2 separate regions of the Homo sapiens genome follow, and region 2 is linked to region 1. The links are contacts of gene promoters, found by promoter capture Hi-C in human tissues and cell types (Jung and others, 2019). All regions are on one chromosome and are shown on one strand. The core of a region is centred on a gene start or on the middle of the fragment in contact, and the rest is flanking DNA. Distances in the headings are between cores, read along the strand shown.

Region 1 (3,762 bases), core at 557-3,056:
GGACAGACCCTAAAGCAGCTGACCACTGGATACTCTTCTCATCACATACCCTGCAGCTGTGCAACAAGTCCTTCTTCGAAGGGGGATCTGCATGTTACATCTCATGTCTACACAAGCAGTGGTGTGCTGGAGCTGGCTCACCCCAGCTCACAGGAGTTGTTGGCATCTTTATCCAACCACAGTCAGTGGTGACATTTTTGCATGTCGAAATTAGCCACTGTGGGAGAATTGACACCACAGAAATTGGCAAATGCCACAAACCAGAACTTTATTTTTTTCCTGGAGAGCTGGTTTACCAGCACACCTCGAATGTGGTCCACAAGTGATTAACACTGAGTAGGTTAATGATTGTCCCTACAATTCAGTCTTCTCATCGGTAAAGTGGGGCCAATAATACTGTAAGAATACTAATATTACTTAGGCTATAGGGTCAGCATGAGAATTAAATGAGTTAATACATGTAAAATACTCTGGACAGCGATTAAATGAGTTAATATATGTAAAATACTCTGGATGGCGACTGCCACACAGGAAACACCCGGTAAGTATTAACTACTATGTTTACTGTTGCCATTGTTATTACAATTATTGCTACCTTAAAAACTTCCACTGGATTTTCATAGAGGACAAGCACCTAAATTTCTTAGTATGACATGCAAAGACCTTTCACAATCTGATAGTTTCAAGCACAAGAAACTTTTCATCATTTCTGGAACTCAAACTGTTTTCCACCTCCAAACCTTGTCACGCCCATGTACCTTCTGCCAGGAAAGCCCACTCCTCCCTTGCCTGTCAACTTCCAATTTTTTTCATCCTTTTGAACCAGCACCCATCACCTCCTCTCTGATGCCCTCTCCACCCACTACATGAGGGTTCCTTCTTCAGTGTTGCCATTGCATATTGCACAACCCTCAGTTACTCTGACAGCACTTTATTGTGATTACTTGTTTACATAACTGTCTCCTCCTTTGAGTCCAGGATTGGATCTGCTATTTCTCTGTGTAGGCAGCACAGTAACACAGGTACTAATAAATATTTGTTGCATGAATGAACATTGCCTGGGAAATGCATAAGAGGGGGGAAATAGAGTACATAGCCTAGTAGGCTATAATAATAATAATAATATTTTTATTTGCTTAAGTGACTCTAAGTATATTGTGTAAAGCAGTGACTTTAGGACCCCAGAGCTTCAGGTTCTGTAAGTCCTAGATTTGTCATATACTCACATCCTGACACAGTCCTACTTATCCTTCAGATGGCTCAGATGTCACGCTCTCTGTGAGGGTTTTCCTCCCAGCTGTCCTCTTGCCGCTCTTTGCCTGCGCACCTATTCACATACGCATAATTGACTCTTCTGGACGTCCCTGTGGGGATCCAGTGGTGTTTGTGTATTCCCACTCCATGGTACAGAGGGGCGGATATTTTGGGGATCCTGTGAGCGTGGTGTTAACAATATTTGGGGATAGTCACAGCCTTAGACCTGTGAATTCATCGCTCACCCTGCCTCCGCCTCAATTTCCCCTAGTGTGATGGGCACAGTGGAAACACCTTCCCAGGGTCGCGATTTAGTGGAGGGCGGCGGAGACTGATGTTGCAGGAAGCCCCCACGCATTCCGAGGAGCTGAGGAATAGAGAGCGAGGTGAGGCGTCGAAACAAGGAAGGAGTCAGGGGGCGTGGAGCGAGACTGGGCGGTGGACGGGACGGGCCGGGCCGGGGCCAGAGGGCGGGGCCTGAGCCGGGAGGGGGCGGAGACAGGGGCGGGGCAGGCGAGGGCGGGAGCGGCTGCCGCCGCGCGGCCAGGACTGTCTGAGGGGAAGTTCGCGAGCGCTGGCTATGGGTCCTGGGGCGCGGCTGGCGGCGCTGCTGGCGGTGCTGGCGCTCGGGACAGGAGACCCAGAAAGGGCTGCGGCTCGGGGCGACACGTTCTCGGCGCTGACCAGCGTGGCGCGCGCCCTGGCGCCCGAGCGCCGGCTGCTGGGGCTGCTGAGGCGGTACCTGCGCGGGGAGGAGGCGCGGCTGCGGGACCTGACTAGGTGAGGGCACGACGAGTGGGAGCGACCGAGGGGCCTCAGTGGGATACACTGTGCCGCAGGGTGGGGTGACTCAGGTTGAGTGTGACCCCAGGCTCATTGTCATGCTGCGTGGGACCCCAGACCCACTGTCGCACCGTGCGACTGAGACATTGTGGCATGGGGTGGGGAGTGGCTCTGAGGGCCAGTGTGACCCCCTAGACCCATTGTCACCCTGTGTGGGACCCTGACACTCCGTGGCATGAGGTGTTGGCGAGGGTTGGGTCACACTGGGACTGCAGACTCCATCACACACATAGTGGCACCCCCCATATCCAGCGTCACACAGCAAAGTTGATACACTGTGGAAGAGCGGGGCGGGGTGACTCTAGGACCTCACAATGTGCTGTGCAAAGCTGTGTGAGCCCCAGGCCCTGTGTCACACTGACACAGACACAGTGGACGGTGCTGTGACAGAGACACTGTGAGAGTGACATGGAGAGAATACGGTGACGCTTTAGCTACGCAAGTATTGACCTTTCAAGGGGGGATCGTGAAACACCGCATGACCTAGTGAGCTGATGTTTAGTGTTAGGAGTCAGGTGACAGTCTTCCACCATATGTGAGGTTTACATGTCATTGGGACTGGATGGGCACGACACTGTGGATATCATACTCTGCATGTGAATGATGCTGAGTAACTGTACAGGTCGCTATATGAATAATGCTTCAGTTCATTAATTCATACAACACATATTTTTGAGTGCCTACTAAGAGCCAGGCAGTGTTCCAGGCAGTGGGGATAAAATGGTGATCAAGAGCCAACTCTGCCCTCGAGGAGTTTGGGTCTGTAGCACCATGACTGTTAATCAGAGATGTCCACTGCCGTCTACGTCTTCAGTTCTTCCTTCTCTTTACACATGTAGAAGCTCTCTAAATACTAAATAAATGATAACTGAGATGTTATATGTGTGTCAACATATTTGATATCAAAAAAGCACTGTGAAAAAACATACTTGATGCAGAAGATACTGAGTGTAGCACACAGCAGTGGATGCTCAGCTAATATAGTTTTGGGGTACAGTCAACAAACTCTAGTGCTACACACTGTGGCATAAAAGGTTGTCAGACTTGGGATGCTGAGGCACCATAGTCATGTATCGACTTAGCAGTGTCCAACTGACAAAAATGAAAGATAAATGATTGTATATGATACCATCTGTATGAATATGTGCTGCGCCTTCTCTGCCTGGGACATCAAGAAGCCTACAACACTGACAGAGTGGTTATGACCACGTCACTATTTGGATATATTAATATTGTACTTATATCATGTGACCTTATCATTGAGCAAAGACAGCACAATGCACTGCTTTTAAAACTTTGCGTGAGTGTGTGTGGTAATAATACTGATTCTGGGGTGACATGAGAAGAAGGTATGTGGAATGGGGAGTGACTCTGAGGTCCAGTGTGACCCCCAAACCCATTGTCACCCTGTGCGAAACTTTGTGACCCCATGACTGTGAGAGAGAGCTATGTAGAAGAGAAGCATTTTGTGGGTGGAAAGTATTTGCGAGAGATCTTGTTAATAGTGACTGAATGAGCTAATGTGGTGCTTGTCCTTAAGTATGTGGCTTGCGTATAAACAGCTTGAAATAGTGTGACAATATACAATATAGGTATGTATTAATTTTAACAATAAATGAAGATCATTTCAATAATTATTGTCACTCTTTGGAATAGCATAGTTGT
Region 2 (3,338 bases), core at 629-3,128, 250 kb before region 1:
ATACTATACAGCAGTGAGAATGCTACCTGCAACAACTAAGGTGAATATCACAAACCTATTATGAGTGAAAGAAGTTGGACACGCGATGGCTCAGGCCTGTAATCCCAGCACTTTGGGAGGCCGAGGTGGGCGGATCACGAGGTCAGGAGATCGAGACCATCCTGGCTAACACGGTGAAACCCCGTCTCTACTAAAAGTACAAAAAATTAGCCGGGCGTGGTGGTGGGCACCTGTAGTCCCAGCTACTTGGGAGGCTGAGGCAGGAGAATGGCGTGAACCCGGGAGGCAGAGCTTGCAGTGAGCCGAGATAGCGCCACTGCACTCCAGCCTGGGTGACAGAGCAAGACTCCGTCTCAAAAAAAAAAAAAAAAAAAAAAAAGAAGTTGGACACAAAAGAACACATACTATGTGATTCTACTTAACAGTTCAAAAACAGGCAAATCTAATTTTTGACGTTAGAATTCAGGACAGCATTTAGCTTTGCAGGGTGAAGTGGCTGGAAGGAGGCACAAAGGAGCTTCTGAGCTGCTGGTCATGTTCTATTTCTCCTCCTGAGTGTTGGTTACATGGAGGTGCACTTTCTCAAAATTTATTGAACTGTACACGTATGATTTATGTACTTTTCTATGAATGTTATACTTCAGTTTTGTTTTTGATTTTGTTTTTTGTTTTGAGATGGAATTTCGCTCTTGTTGCCCAGGGTGGAGTGCAGTCGCGCAATCTCAGCTCACTGCAAACTCCGCCTCCCGGGTTCAAGCGATTCTCCTGCTTCAGCCTCCCGAGTAGCTAGGATTATAGGTGCTTGCCACCACGCCCGGCTAATTTTTGTATTTTTTGTAGAGACGGGGTTTCACCATGTTGGCCAGGCTGGTCTTGAGCTCCTCAGATGATCCACCCACCTCAGCTCCCAAAGTGCTGGGATTACAGGTGTGAGCCACCGCGCCCGACCACTTCAGTTTTTAAAGTTGAATTTTGAAAATGCATTCCAGCTACTCTGCGGACTGGAGGGAGCAACTCCTTAGGCACAGAACCCAGTGGAAAAGCTGCTGGAAGAGTGGAGGCACCTCCTGCTTTTTCATTTTCTACTTAGCATGCTGTGTGCTTTTTGATGACTGTTTTTTCCAGGCAGGTTAGCTAAGCTGTTGGGAGAAGTGTGATGGATGGAAGGGGCATCATAAGTAAGAGGTCTTAAAAAACTCAAGAAAAAAAAAACGAGACTTGGAAATCTCTTCCACCCCACCTCCTCCCTGAAGTCACTCTGGCCATGGGAGTGGATGGATGAAGGTCAGAGCAGGTGAGTCACTTGCTTCCTTAACCACTGAGAATATTTTTCCCACTCTGTGCATTCAGCCTCCCCCCACTTCCCAGACATGGAGGCTTAGCTTAGGATAAGACATCATGCATCCTTTCCCAGAGACTCAATCTTCATTTCATACCTCTTTTACGTCACCTAAGTCCTTCTGGATCCTCAGGACAGGAACTGAAGCCCTGGGGATCAATGACAAGGAAGGAGCTGCTGAAAGAGGTCCCTGTCCACTGGGCAGAAGGGATCCTCCAGTCCAGAGTGCGGCTGAGCACTTGGAAGCTGGGAAGTCAGCCAGCATTTCATCTTTTGTTTTTTCCTCCTGGGGCTTCCTGTCTCAGAGGTGAATGGAGAGGGGTCATGGGGACTTCCTGGCCTCTGCAAATAAACCTTTCCATTGTCGTTGGCCAGGCAGTACTTCCAGGCCAGACAGCCCAGGTTGATGGGCAGTAACCAAAACAGCAATGCTGCCTTCAAAGGAAGCTTACCCCTAGTCCCATCAAAGGTCCCTGTGGGCTGGGCATGGCGGCTCACACCTATAATCTCAGCACTTTGGGAGGCTGAAGCAGGAGGATCACTTGAGCCCAGGAGGTCCAGGTTGTAGTGAGCCCTGATCGCATTACTGCACCCAACAGAGCAGGACCCTGTCAGAAATAAATAAATAAATAAATAAATATCCCTGCAAGAAGAGGCTATACACTGCTGAGGTGGAAAAGCAGTCATGATCGCAGCCAGAACTTGACCACTCATTGTTGAGGGGTGAGTGGGAACTAGGTGGGGGAGAAGCATCAGAGAATGTGAGGGCTGGTAGGGCCTGAGAAGTCAGCTAGTTTGTTTTCTGATGATTCCTCATACCCAGACAGTTCCTGACACGTAATAGGGACTCTATAAACATTTACTGAATAAATGAGTGGATCTAGTCCTACATTTTCATTTAAGTGAGCTGTCAGGAAAGCAAGGCCCGAAATGGAAAAGGACATTTCCCAAGGACACACAGTGAGTTAGTATCAGAACCCAGACTAGAGCTCAGGGTTCCTGAATCCCTATTCTTTCTGTTAATAACTGGGTGACAATCGGTACACAGGGGAGGGGAGCCATATTCTCCTCCTTCCTTAAGCCAAAGGAAACTGGGGACTTCAAGAAAACCACTCAGAGAGCTTGACATGTTGCACTGAAGTTTGGGAATCATAAGATATGGAGTTTGACATATTCTTGAGGAATTTAAATATTAGAGACTGAATGGAATTTGTAGGACTAGAGAGAGATGGTTGGGCTGAGAGCAAACCCTTCTCCCACTGGCCATGGGGCAAAAGCAGGTTTTTCCTAGGAACTGAGGTAGACCTGGAAGAAGGGATCTGACCTAGGATCTTCCTAAAACAGGTCTGTCCTCAAAAGAATTGCACTGAGGGCACTGGGACCCCAACAGAGAAGATGGACTGCTAAAGTTCAGGAGCCAAGCCAGAGGAGAAGCTTTGCTTCTCAAGGGAAGTATAGTTGGGGGCTCCAAGGGAGGATCCCTTAAAGGTTCCCCTAAAGCCTTTCAAAGAGATAGAATTGGTTTTGGGCATTTGTCCTGCCCAAAACAGCAACATCGTATTGTAGTTGACACTCTTTTTCCTTCATCTTCTCTCCTTCTTGGAGGCAGAGACAGACTTACCTTGAAACTAATGAAGCTTAAATTTCAGGGTTCCTCACTTACAGACCTCTTTAGTCTCACAGATTTTGTATTTGTAATTTTGTATTTTTTCCTTAAAAATATATATTATAAAATTTATATTATTTTTGTATTGATAATAAACAATTTTATACTGATGCATAAACAATTATCACAAACTTAGCCACTTATTACAAATTTATTATTTCTGCTTCTGTATACCAGAAGTCGACGTAGGGCATGACTCAATTCTCTGCTCAGGATCTCAGCAGGCTGGACTGAAAGTGCTGGTCATGTATAGGGCTCAGGGTTCTCCTTCAGGCTCACTGGTTATTGGCAGAATGCAGTTCCTTATGGTTGTAGGACTGAGGTCACCATTGT

Evidence for each region. Contacts are between HindIII fragments. The study calls those that stand out against the background at their distance.
Region 2: a fragment that was not itself captured here is called in contact with the fragment with the promoter of P4HA3 in region 1 in 2 of the 25 tissues and cell types used here (IMR-90 fibroblasts and mesendoderm cells).

Annotation. Positions count from the first base shown.
Region 1 is chr11:74,309,684-74,313,445 of GRCh38, reverse strand. P4HA3 (prolyl 4-hydroxylase subunit alpha 3) reads left to right here and starts at 1,806. Exons shown (of 13, transcript NM_182904.5): 1 at 1,806-2,034. The coding sequence starts at 1,835. It overlaps P4HA3-AS1 (P4HA3 antisense RNA 1), which reads right to left and starts at 2,084. Exons shown (of 7, transcript NR_120556.1): 1 at 1,997-2,084; 2 at 1,500-1,621; 3 at 1,227-1,327. The HindIII fragment of the contact is 9,884 bases long and covers 1-3,762 here.
Region 2 is chr11:74,558,088-74,561,425 of GRCh38, reverse strand. No RefSeq gene overlaps it. Among named protein-coding and RNA genes, the nearest start is that of POLD3, 33 kb to the left of the region's middle. The HindIII fragment of the contact is 3,664 bases long and covers 47-3,338 here.